Linked DNA regions of Homo sapiens: regions 1 and 2 are each linked to region 3. Evidence: promoter capture Hi-C in human tissues and cell types (Jung and others, 2019). All regions are on one chromosome and are shown on one strand. Each heading gives the region's core, a stretch centred on a gene start or on the middle of the fragment in contact. The rest is flanking DNA. Distances are from core to core; before and after follow the strand shown.

What was found. The method cuts DNA at HindIII sites, captures the fragments that hold promoters and counts their contacts. A contact is called where the count stands out against the background at its distance.
Region 1: a contact is called between a fragment that was not itself captured here and the fragment with the promoter of LEPROTL1 in region 3, in 1 of the 25 tissues and cell types used here (adrenal gland).
Region 2: a fragment that was not itself captured here is called in contact with the fragment with the promoter of LEPROTL1 in region 3 in 1 of the 25 tissues and cell types used here (mesenchymal stem cells).

What each region holds. Positions count from the first base shown.
Region 1 is chr8:30,541,692-30,546,242 of GRCh38, reverse strand. It overlaps RBPMS (RNA binding protein, mRNA processing factor), which reads right to left. Exons shown (of 9, transcript NM_001008710.3): 6 at 1,619-1,749. Among named protein-coding and RNA genes, the nearest start is that of SMIM18, 95 kb to the left of the region's middle. RefSeq lists enhancers at 2,030-2,637, 2,638-3,245, 3,854-4,463, 4,464-4,551. The HindIII fragment of the contact is 5,733 bases long and covers 1-4,551 here.
Region 2 is chr8:29,613,161-29,617,486 of GRCh38, reverse strand. No RefSeq gene overlaps it. Among named protein-coding and RNA genes, the nearest start is that of LINC02948, 53 kb to the right of the region's middle. The HindIII fragment of the contact is 3,374 bases long and covers 659-4,032 here.
Region 3 is chr8:30,092,997-30,097,116 of GRCh38, reverse strand. LEPROTL1 (leptin receptor overlapping transcript like 1) reads right to left here and starts at 1,709. Exons shown (of 4, transcript NM_015344.3): 1 at 1,589-1,709. The coding sequence starts at 1,604. RefSeq lists a silencer at 1,402-1,861 and an enhancer at 3,977-4,120. The HindIII fragment of the contact is 5,830 bases long and covers 1-4,120 here.

The sequences.
Region 1 (4,551 bases), core at 1,209-3,708, 450 kb before region 3:
TATTAACATTTGCCTTAATTGCCACGTGATCTGTACCCGGCAGTCTAGCAAGAGGAGACACCATCCAGAGCAGGGGTGGGAGGTGGCAAGCAAAAGGGGCTCTTAGTTGCCCCATGTCATCCACATATTTATCCGCAGCCTGCTACAAAGATCCTAATGACTCAGCAGAAGACACCCACAGGTTTACATTTTATCCCGACCCCGTTACCTGCCAGTTGTGAGGGTTCCCAAGCACTGACATGGAAAAAGGAAGAAAAAGCAGCAGGGGAAGGAGAAGCCAAAGGCACAGGTAATCCTGGCTCCTTTATTTTCTGTGCCATGTACTCTCAACCACCAACACCACCTACATTTTTTTCTTCACTACTTGTACTACTTTCTCCCTTCTTCTCCCAACATAGAGGGCAATCATTACTGGGGCTCAGGCACCAAGGGCAGGCCAGGAAGCCGGGTCATCAATGCACGCACAACGTGTTGGTAACTCAGAATTAAAAGATGTTCAGCCAACAACAATCTCGACCCCATGACTTTCAAGAACCCTCGCTGGGGGCTGCTTCTAGGTGGTCTTTATCAAGACAGGGAATTCTGTACAACATAAAAGAGTTTTAAGTCAGAAGGAGGTTTTCTGGGAAGCTGTTTATTTCACCCAGCCTTGTAAACAAACACTGAGCAAAACAGGCAAACGAAAACTCTGCCTGTCCAGCCTAATAATTTTTAAAAATTTAAAATTTAAAGGCTGAATTACACATGCAGAAAGACAAATGAAACCTACGTACGTACTTTCTATTTGTTACTGGTCATCAATCTTTGCAGGCCAAAGAATGAGTGGTGATCTCCAGAGGTGAATCTTTACACTGATTACTACCACTTGCACTAAAAGCGAAGCTAAGAGAAATATTTTCTCCAAGGGGAGAGGAAGTGTTAGTATGTAGACAGTAATCTTTGCGGAGAAACAGGAAGTTTGTTTATAAAAATCAGGCTATTTTTAACTAAGAAAGAAAGCTGGTCAGAATAGAGATCTCTACCTTGACCTGTAATTCCATCTTAGACACTATCTTGTATCTCCTTTTCTACAGGGTTTCCTGAAAATGGAGAGAAGGAACCCTTAATCTTTCCTGTAACATATTTAAGAAAGTACAGCCTTCCCCCCTGGAAGCTTTCCCTTTGGTCAGAGATTCTTCTCACCGTACACGAGAGTGGAAAACTCTCAACACACAGAAACACGCACAGACGCACATATCCCCTTCTCCTAGCACACACCTTCCTCTGCAGCCCTTCCACACAAGGCACACACGTATACACTCTGGTGATGCCCTCTAGCTAGCTGGGAGCCAGGTGGATAAACCTGCCCCGGTCTCTCATGTGCGATATGAGGTGAGATCATTAAGGAAGAGAGAGGTGTCATTTGGGGCAAACATCAGGCAGTGGGTGATATCATTGCTGTCAGACGATCCTCGTCAGTCCTGAAGGAGTGTCAGCTTGATTTAGAGGGGATCATTAATCTCTTGAGGGTGGATCTGTTAGCTGGATAGGTGTTAGTTGTATGGTGTGCTCTCGGGAACCAAGTTTGAAAGGACTGGTGGTGAAGTGAGTGAAGTCCTGGCCGATGGGTATCAATTACCTGGGCATGCAGTGAAGCGGGATAGGTGAAAGCAGGAGGAGGTAGAGCAGGCGCTAACTCCGCTGGGTACAGAGGGTACGGGGCCCACACTTCAGGGCTACTGGGGTAAAGTGCAGGCACTGTGAGCTCATCTGCAAGAAAAGAATAAGGCGAGAGTTAGTGGTTACCATACAGCTAGTTTCAAATCAGAAAACAAAACACCCAACAACCCCGAGCCCCAATCACTGTCGGAAGTCAAATTACTCTCATTCTTTTAACAACCTGTTGTTTGTTGGCTTTGGTCCCACAAATGCTAAGTAAGGGAACGAAAAATATAACACAAGAAAAGCAACAAGCATCTGCTGCCTGTCTGGCCTGCTGAGATCTCAGGCCTGGACTCCGCCTTGAACACTCTGATGTCTTTCCGACTGTAGCTGGGGAACCCAAAACAGTGGGAATTTCCTGCACAAAACAGGAAATGCGACCCTCTGAGGAAAAGGGAGAGAAAGAACCAATGAAAGACATCCCATGAGAACCCACTGCAGAGCCTTTGGGAAAACCATGGCTTAACGGCAGGGCCTCAACAGACCAGAACTGGAAGACTTTTCTGTTTATTGGCATAATTACTATTGACAAGTCAGTAATGATCATCAAGCATTTTCCACGTAGCCCTCAGAAGTACAGGGCCAAATACTGTGACCACAGGGCATTTAAGATCTTAAAAATTCAGAGAATTGAAGTGAAAAACCTTGAGAATCCTGATTAAAATTACACTCCACAAAGATGTAAACAGGAACATTTCCAGTTGCTCTTTACAGACTAACTTTTAGGGGAAAAAAGTGAGTCATATTGCCAAGTGCCTGGTCTAAGTGTTCCTCAGGCAGCTCCAATTCCACCCAGGTCAGGCTGCAGTTGGCCAGATTGAAGGGCAAGTGCCTGGGCCTCCCATGTATCAGGAAGCAATCCATTAAAAGTAACAGCAAACACATGAGGGAGCTTCTCAGGAAAGGCAAAAATAACATCAGTCAATAGCAAGGAATCTGGGCCCTGTGAAGCAGCAATCTCAATATGTGCTTTTATCACCTGTCAAAATCTGAAATCAAGTGTGCCAAGGACGCTATCCAGGACTAACACGGGAGTCAGCAAAAGGTGATTTGATAGAAGTCATTAGTAACTCTGCCATTCAGTACTTTCCCTGAGTCTACAGTGCAAGGTCAACAGAGTCACTTTATTCCTTCCTACCATCTAAGGAGCCATTCCAGGCCCAGTGTCTCTGCATCCTTCCCATCCCCCGAAACTCTTCAATACAGAAAGGGGGCTAGCAACAGAAAACTGCTTTGCTCGGTGTGATGTGGGACTGCTCTATGGCGAAACCAGAAAGTAGCAGAACCTGTGTGAGGCTTCCCCACAGCCAGCTTGCATGGCACGAGCTTCTCTCAGGATGGTAGGGAGTCAGGAGCTGACTGCTGATGATACGTTCAGAGGGCAGTTTGTACCCATTTTCAGATATGATGGGACCCCAACAATGTGGTTTAACATACTGTTGCTGGTTGGCCTTCCTGACTCCCTTCTCCTCTCAACAAGGCAGTAAAAACTACCTCCTCAGGACTTGGTGATAGAAAGACAGACTGCCTGTGCATCTAGGTGGGAGAAATAAGCCCCTAAGAGTGGACTGATCATTATTAGTCAGGGTGAAAGCAACAACACCAGAGTCCTTAAAATGATCAGGTCCACAGCATCTACTGTGTTCTAGGGTGTGTAGGTGCCTGTAGCCCAAGGCTTAGGGACCACCCTCAGAGGGGCTGGGAGGGGCTTAATAGATCCCTGTGCTTCCTGTTGTGATGAGACCATGTGATTTCCAGAGTAACTCACGTGGGAGCCCAGCTAGTGGAAACTAACTGCTACCAGAACCAATGCCTTGAATTTTAAACAAACAACCATTCTCAGGAATGCCAAACTATTATTGTTGTTTAGCGACCAGGCTATTTTAAGACATTCTGAGTCTTTTAAATCCTCAGTACACTGTGGCCCATGCTTGTCTGTTCCCACTGTGATAGCAGAAGACCATAAAACTGATACATACAACTGATTCCAAATGGCAGAGCCCTCAGGGGGAACGTGTTTGGCCTGCAGCCTGTCAGTGGTCCTTCCTTATCTTCCTGGCTAACTGGGGTGGGGTGGGTAGAGGTGGTTACCTGATCAGTAGGTCCTTCCTTTAGAAACTTTTAAAAATGAAATGAGTATGTCCTTTAAGATATCTGATCCTAAAGAGATAAGCAACAGAGATAAGCTGGAATCAGATTTCAGTGTCAGCCTGACTGCTGGAATTTATGTTTCCCAGACTTTTCTCTGTTTTTATCCTGAAGCATTACTTCCCATTAGTTCTTTACTGATGCTTAGAGACAATTCACCATTGATATTTGCACAAAACCCAGCCCAGCAGAAAAGAGGATTTGGTCTGAAATCCCCTAAACTCAAAATTGCTGAGTAGTAGTAACGTATTAGTGAGGCAGAAGCCTAAAAGAGATAAAGGTGAACTTACACTTGATAAATCCCTTGATACATCTTATCATCTCCGTCTCCCTTCTCCCATCATGAAGGAATGTGGAATTACCATAAACATCAAAAGATACGTGGTCTGACCAGGTCAGGATCGCACCTGAAGCAGTCCTCACCAACACCTAACTTTCCAGTATGAGCCTGAGCACTCTCCTAACACACACATACACTCCTTTGACGGAAATGGGTATTAAAGCAGAATAAGCTTTTTGCGTTTGTTTGCTTTTTCGTTGCTTGAGAAAATTACAAAAGCTAGAGAGACTGGTTTTCCACAGCACAAGCCCTTCACAAGGACTCCCCACTGAAGGAGCAGGCAAGGCCCTGATGGGTTTCACCTTCCTGAGTCACTGCCCATCCTGCTCAAACTTTACAGGATGGAAGGCTGAAAAAAGAAG
Region 2 (4,326 bases), core at 1,096-3,595, 480 kb after region 3:
AGTTAGTGTATAATGAGCAGCGAGGATGACCAGAGATAACTTTTCATTGCTATCTTTGTTTTGGCCGGCTTCTTTACCTCATCCTGTTTTATCAGCAGGGTCTTTATGACCTGTATCTTGTGATCTCCTATCTCATCCTGTGACTAAGAATATCTGATTTCCTGAGAATGCAGCCTAGTAGGCCTTCGCCTTATTTTACCCAGTCCCTATTCAAGATGGAGTTGCTCTGGTTCGAACATCTCTGACAATGTCAGCATATCTCTAAAGAGAAATTTCTGTTTTTACTCACTGCTTTTTCTCCAAAGGGTCATAACACGAAGTCCTGTGGGAATAGCACAGATCTTTCCAGTTAGGGGGAGAATGGGGGCTCAGGCCAGCACAGCCAGTGAGGAAGAGCTCCCCAAACACCCCGGGAGCCAGTCTCCGGAGAAAGCTTCAGGAGGTGGGCAGTGGGTAAACAAAAGAGAAAACTCAGAGATAAATGAGAAGGTGCCCCCGTCTTTAGCAAGAAAATATCCAATTCATCAATGTCCAGACACCCCCACCTCCTACAGGGCTGACATCTGAAACAAAATTAAGTAACCAAATACAAGTTCCTTCCTGTCAGTAGAAGGCAATATTATTAGCAAATTAGCAAACACATCCATCAGTGGTAAAAGAAAATCAATGGGTTTTGGAGTTTTAAAAAAACAGGAAAAAGGCTAGAACTAACAGCAGAAAGGTAATACACCCCTTAGAGAGCTTGACGTTTCTTCCATGGAGATTATGGTCCCAGCCAGCTTCACACCCCCACTCCCACTTCCTTACCCAGAAAAGAGGGGACCTCGCCCTCTTTCCAGACACTGCAATGGCTTCCCTCTGCTCCCTGCTTTCAGGAGCTAAGCTTTGGAGTTATTTCTTTGCTTGCACAATGGCTGGCCAAAGCCACAAGCCCCCCGGCCCTAAAGGAAGTCTGTTGGAGACATCTCCTTTGAAGACAGGGAGCAAGGGTCGACCTGGTGATTTTTTCTTCTGGTATTCCCCCTCCATGGCAATGAATGGATATGCAGTCAAGAAAGAGCCTTCAGATGGCTAAGCCGGCAGGAGGGATTGTACAGTTCCCTGCTTTTAGAAAAGTATGTAGGATAAGAAAAGTGACAGCAGAGACCTAACAAGGAATGGCTCCACCCTGCCCCTGAGCTGTGAAGCAGCTGGTGGACCTGGGAAAGCGGCTTGATCTCCCCTCCCCTCTTCTCCTCTCCTCTCTCCTCCCCTCCCATGTCTTTTTCTTTCTTCTTCCCTTCCCTTGCCTTTCCCTCCCTTCCCTTCCCCTTTCCCTTCCCCTTCCCTCCTTCCCTCCTTCCCTCTCCTTCCTTTCTTTCTTTCTTTTTCTTTCTCTCTCCTTCCTTCCTTTCTTCCTTCTCCTTTTCTTTTTTACTTTCTCTTTCTTTCTTTCTTTCTCTTTCTTTCTTTCTGTCTTTCTTTCTTTCTTTCTTTTCCTTCCTTCCTTCCTTTTCTTCTTTCTTTCTTTCTTTAAATCTGGTAAAAGCTACAAACACTATCCTCAAAAAAAAAAAAACACACACACACATTTTCTGAGGATTCACACACACAATGGGGGCTCAAGTACCCTTTGCTTTAAGAAAATTCACCATGCCCTGGAGTCAGACCCACCTGGCACCCTTCTGCACTGAAGTGCAGCTGAGGGCATGAACCTGGCACTTTCCATGAGGGCAGCAGAGGTTGCTTTGAACTAACCAAGGGGGGCTTAAGTCATGGGATGGAGCACAGCCTCCTTCCGACATCTGGAATTTTAATGAGCTTGGATCAGGCCGGCAGACCCAGAGAGCATGCTTTAGGGCCCACAGAAAAGTTTTTTTATAAGCATCTTTGTCCATTGTCCAAGCATTCAGTAGGCACTCAATAAAGATGTTTAAGAATGACCTTATTTTGTTGAAGAGCAGATTCCTTTAGCAATGGACATTGCTAAATGCCTTCGCCTCTAGGGATTTGGGCAATGTACTAAAACCCCCTCCCTCGTTCTACTCAATCATCTTATTTTTGCCTCATGTAAAGCCCAGCTTAACTTTCAGAGGAGCACATGACTATCAGAGGCTGAATGGCCCCCTCCACTTCCGGGGGTGCTGGCATAGGTAGAGTACAGCCAGGCACGCACACATCTCCAGCTGGGTTCACTTGTCTTTCTGGAATCCCATTAGGTCCCAGGGGACAAGTAGAGCGCCTGATACCACTTGCCCTAATCCAACCCTGATCCACCATGTGAGGAGAGAAGAAGGCAAAGACTCACAAGACCCCATCTTCCCCCACCTTCAATACAAGCATTCCCGAGTAATACCCATTTCCAAAGTCAGCCCTCCTTTCCACTTCTCTGCTGTGTTCCAGACACTGACTGCCCCTTTTCTTGGAGCCATGAACAGCACCCAGAAGGAGGCTATTTTTGGTTCCCCTTTAATTAACCTCCTCTCTGCTCAGAACAGGCTTCTCCCTCCCCTGTTACCCAACTCAATCCCCCCTCCAGGAGTTTCTCTTCCTTACAGGGATTAGGAGAGTGTGTGGGGAGCCCATTTTCTAATGGTGTCCTTGGGCATCCAGGAGTAGGGAGAACGTCTAAGGGACAGGTGCAGAAAAAGCTCAAGCACCTTCCCCACTTCTGTCCCCTGTACAGGATGGGCCCCTCATCCCTGGTTCAAGATGTGTCCTCCAGGGTGCAGTGTGCATGACTCATTTCCGGAGTCTCAGTCAAGAGAGCTCTTTTCCCTGCCTCCTTGACAAGCTGGGGACTCTGGGGGATTTTCAGTTTCTTCCCTGGTATAGGTATTGCCACAGCAAGAATTGCACCTGTTCCAACAGGAAGTACTGTTTATGATGATACAAAGCTTAGAGAGATTCGAGAACATCAGAATCTGAAAATAACTCTAGAAGATTCCTCCCTCAATATCTGCATTTGACACATAAGAACACTGAGGTCCAAGGGAGTGAGGAAGGAAAATGCATTTTCTCCATTTGACATCACCATCTACCTGACATTCAAGTGCTTTTCAACTCTAGGCCAAGTCGCTGCACCTAGGTCTTTCCATTTTAAAATATTATATTTTTTATTTTTTGTAGAGACAGGGTCTCACTACATTGCCCACGCTGGGCTCAAGCGATACACCTGCCTTGGCCTCCCAAAGTGCTGGGATTAACAGGTTTGAGCCACCACGCCCAGCCAGTAGCTATTTCCATTTAAGAAATGTCCATACCGAACAAGTTTGCTGGAATGACTGAGGGCATAGATATTGTGTCCAGAGTTGTTTCCTTCCAGTGGGTTCGCGGTCTCGCTGACTTCAGGAATGGAGCCACAGACCTTCAGGGTGAGTGTTACAGCTCTTAAAGGTGGTACGGGCCCAAAAAGTGAGCAGCAGCAAGATTTATTGTGAAGAGCAAAAGAACAAAGCTTCCACACAGTGGAAGGGGACCCAAGCGGGTAGCCGCTGCTGGCTGGGTGTGGCCAGCTTTTATTCCGTTATTTGTCTCCGCCCATGTCCTGCTGATTAGTACATTTTACAGAGTGCTGATTGGTCCATTTTACAAACCTCTAGCTAGACACAGAGCGCTGATTGGTGCATTTTTACAGAGCACTGATTGGCGCATTTTACAAACCTCTAGCTAGCCACAAAGTGCTGATTGGTGCGTTTTACAATCCTAACTACAGAGTGCTGATTGGTGCATTTTATAATCCTCTTGTAAGACAGAAAAGTTCTCCAAGTCCCCACTGGACCCTGGAAGTCCAACTGGCTTCACTTCTCAATAGAATAGTGCAAAAAGTTACCTAGCACAGACAGAAGCCAGGCTCAGAAAGAAGTGAGACTTCTGTCTCCATATCACAGATAATATGTGGTAGACAAAAGCTTATGACAACTGGGGCAATGTTAACAAGGACAGCCAGTTAAGCTAATTCCTCTTCCACATGCTGCGTCTCCAGTGGAGTTTGCCAATCCTGGGCAGTTACTGTGGACGTAGATACTTTTCAAATGGAAAGGACAACTCTTAACATGTGAGTAGGAAATGAATAAACAGGGAAACTAATCCATTCCAACAAGGACGATGCAGCTGGCTGTGGCCTTTGGGCCTTTTAAAATCTCTAGATAAATAAAACTAGTTCTAATGTACCAGTTAAGTATTAAAAACAAGCTTTAAAAAAATTCTTATGATTTAGCTAATAGAACAGTGCAATCAAGAACACAGAAGGCTCTGAGCAGCAGTCTCTTCTTTCAAAGATGGCCCCACCATCACCACGACCACCCAATCAGGAAGCAGGGCACATTTCTCTTTGCTCCGCACAGA
Region 3 (4,120 bases), core at 460-2,959:
GATAAGTCTGGGTTCTACTCCCAAAGCCTCTAGGCTAGGCATGGAGCAGCCCAATTATCTAGCAAAACTCTCTAGAGACAAGATGCTGATTCTGTGATTACAAAGAAATTAGAGTAGAAGGAGGGACCACTTCTCTAACCTGGGAGTTACCAGAAAATCCAATATATCAAAAAGTAATAGACAAATGGCTCAAGCAATGCCTAATGGTCTCTAATTACAGCAACACTCCTTCCTAATATAAAGATATTAGGCCAAGAGAAAGAAACATACTGACTCATAACAACCAGAAAATCCTGCTGAAATCAAAAGTGCAGTTCACCTGAGGCACCTTCATCAGTTTAATGCAGTATTTCCCTAGGTCTGGAGAAGTAAATTACAAAGCTATTTTCTTAAGAGACCCCCGCATTATTGACACTGAAGAAACAGGGAAGAACAGGGAAACGGGCAACATCCTAAAAACCACAGCAATTCACAATAACTGCCTTTCACATAAGGGTTTAGAGTCTATCATAGTTCAAAAGGAGATTACAAAGTATCCCAGTTGCTTAAATGACAAGGTTTTATATGGGAAATGAAATGTTTTCAGACATTGAAAATAAACAAGAAACAGTAAGACTGTGACCCTGAAAAAAAACTCGATTAAGTTTTCCTTAGAGAAGAAAAAATACAAAGAAAACCACTGCTCCCAAAGTTACCTGCTTCCTGCCTGACTGCCCTTCTACAGAGCGGCAGGTCAAGAAATCAATGTAATTAGTTAAGCAGTAGCTGAAAACTTTGCTTCTCATCACACTGACAACAAAACTACCTAACAGGTGGAACAAATGCAACATTCCTTTTTTTAAAAGAAAATACATGAATAAGCCAGTAGTTTTTCATTAAGTTGTACCAGTATTTTATCTTCTTAAAAAAAAAAAAGGAAAAAAAGAAAAATTTTGAAATTTGAAAAAGCCTCAGGGTGCAACTGCGGAGAGGGAAGAGAGCCAGGAGCACTTTGGGGTCGCCTACAGGATCAACTCTAGGGTCCAGACACCGCAGATGAAAATGCACCCGTTTCGGGAGCCTGTAAAGCCTCGGGCGCGGGCGGCCGGGGTGGACGTGGGGTCGAGGTTTCGGGCAGACCCGTGCAGCGCCCGCAGACCGCACTTGTGCCTTTCGGTGGGAAATGACTGGTTTTCCATAGCTGGCATCTCTAGCAGCCTCAGCCTTCTCAATCCCACGCTCTGCCTGCCTCTCTCTCGGATGCAAACTCCTGCAAAACGTGTGTGGCCGTCCAAGTCGCGACGGGACTCCTCACTGACCGCCAACCACTTCATATTTTGTCCGGGGGGCGATGGGTGGGAGAGAGGCTGCCGAAATCGGCAGAAAGTGGGGGCTGCGGGGCGAAGCCGGGGTCGCAACCGTCCGTTGCCCGAGGGCGCCGCGCCCACCTCCGGGCCAAGCGCAGGGCCGGGGCGGGGGTCGCTTCCCCGGCGCAGGGACCCCACGCGCGCGCGCGAGCCCGGAGGGGAAGTGCGGGGGCCGCGTGGGACCCCCGGCCCATCTTCCCCCGCCGGCCCCAGCCCTCCCGCGTCCTGCAACCCAGGCCCACCTTTGATGCCTGCCATGGCGGTGACGTCGCTCCTGGCTCCACGACCCGAGGCGGCGGCGGCAGCAGCGGCAGCCGGGAGACCCAAGACGCGCTACGGCGGCCAGACAACACCCGGAAGTGCGCGACGCAGCACTTCCGCCGGCGACTCGGGCTCGCGCGGGGGCGCGGGGGACGCGCCGGGCTGGGCTGTGGGGTCGACCCCCTGCCTCTCTTCTCCGCGGGTGTGCAGATCGCCGCCGGCCGAGGCTTGCCGCCGCCGCCCCGACTGGGGGAATGAGCAGGCGCCAGGTCTTGAATTCCTGTCAGGGCCGGTCTGGGGGCTCCCTGCTGAAGCCCCTGTCCCTGATCCCGCAACCTCCCGCGTGCGTTGGGAAGGGGTCGCGGGTAGCGGCCGTCCTTTGGATGCACGTGTGATGGCTTTTGGCTTAATTTCACATTGTTTTGTTTGTTTTTTGAGACAGGGTCTCTTTCGCCCAGGCTGGAGTGTGATCACGGCTACTGCAGCCTCGATCTCCAGGGCTCAAGTGATTCTCTCACGTCGGCCTCGCAGTAACTGGGACCACAGACATGAGCCACCATGCCTGGCTTTTTTTTGTTTTGTTTTGTTTTGTTTTTTGTAGAGACAGGGCGGGGTGTGAGACTCTCATCTTGTTGCCCAAGCTGGTCTCCTGAGCTCAAGGATCTGCCCTCCTCGGCCTCCCAAAGCGCTGGGATTACAGCTTGATACCCTACCTTGTTTTAACCTGATTGACTCGCTCTTAGCTGAGAGAGCGGGACAGACTCCATTTTGGTTTCTTCGCTTGCAGCACCTTGTCCCCCTCCCTTAAGGACATAACTGGTGCAGACTGACACCAAGCACATCCAGGAATGTGCTTACTGATAAGATACTGAGGCAAGCTGTACCAGCAGCTCCTGGGAACGCGCTCGGTTGATGGTACCCAAAGCCCCTGCGTTTATCTCTTTGTGATAATTTAAGCCCCATGCACCTGGAACTGTTTATTTTCCTGTAACTGTTTCTATAACCATTTATCTTTTAACTCTTTGCCTGTTCTGCTTCTGTAAAAATTGCTTCAGCTAGACTACCCCTTCCCTATTTAGACCAAGGTATAAAAAGAAATCTAGCCCCTTCTTCAGGGCCGAGAGAATTTTGAGCTGTAGTCGTCTCTCGGTCGCCGGCAATAAAGGACTCCTGAATTAGTCTCAAAGTGTGGTGTTTCTCTATAACTCGCTCGGTTACGACAACAGGTGTGAGCCACTGCGCACATTATTTTACTGCGCCTTTTCCTCTCTCCCTCCATCCCTCCATCCCCAGTCCTATAATTAAGGTTAGTTGGGTGGTCTGCACTTGGCTCCTTGGTTTCCTATACAGGACTAGGGTTCTGGTGAGGACCCACCTCCAGAGATAGGAGCAGCAGGGCTCAGTAAAGGGTGGATTTAATAGAAATCCAGTCCCTTGGGTGGCTGTCTTTTTGGTAGTAACAAGGCAAGGAAAAAAAAGTGAAAGCCCAGGTTCAACACCTTTATTTACACATCCTACAATTATTTATAGAACATTTACTATGTGTTAGGCACAGGGTTAGACGCTGAGATGTGCAAAACCAGGTACTGTTTGCAGACTGGTGAGGAAGACAGACACACAAAAAATGTAAAATTGCAATAATGATAATTGCTAGTAAAGGGGATCAGAATATGTCACTCTAAAATATGCCACTTTGAAGTCTGGTGTGGTGACTCAGGCATGTGATCCCAGCACATTGGGAGGCTAAGACAGGAGGATCGCTTTGGCCCAGGAGTTGAAGACCAGCCCTGGCAACATAGTGAGACTCCATCTCTACAAAAACGAAAAAAAAATTAGCCAGGCTTGGTGTGTGCCTGTAGTTCCAGCTACTTGGGAGGCTGAAGTAGGAGGATTGCTTGAGCCTAGGAGGTCGAGGCTGCAGTGAGCTCTGATTGTGCCACTGCCTGGGCAACAAAGCAAGACTCTGTCTCCAAACAAACAAATAAATGTCAGGCCTCTGAGCCCAAGCTAAGCCATCATATCCCCTGTGACCTGCACGTACACATCCAGATGGCCGGTTCCTGCCTTAACTGATGACATTACCTTGTGAAATTCCTTCTCCTGGCTCATGCTGGCTCAAAAGCTTCCTCACTGAGCACCTGGTGACCCCAGCCCCTGCCTGCCAGAGAACAACCCCCTTTGACTGTAATTTTACTTTACCTACCCAAATCCTATAAAATGGCCCCACCCCTATCTCCCTTCGCTGACTCTCTTTTCGGACTCAGCCCACCTGCACCCAGGGGAAATAACCAGCCTTGTTGCTCACACAAAGCCTGTTTGATGGTCTCTTCACACGGACACGAGTGAAAATAAGGCTAAGGATTGTTTTGAGCTGAAAGCAAATAAGAAGCAACAGGCATAGGAGGAGCTCTCTGCTCTCTCCTTTTCTACCCAAAGGCCGTGCTTAAGTTCCCTTTGTAAAGATAACATAAAGTTCCACTTTTTGTTTTGTTTTGTTTTTCTTTTGAAACGGA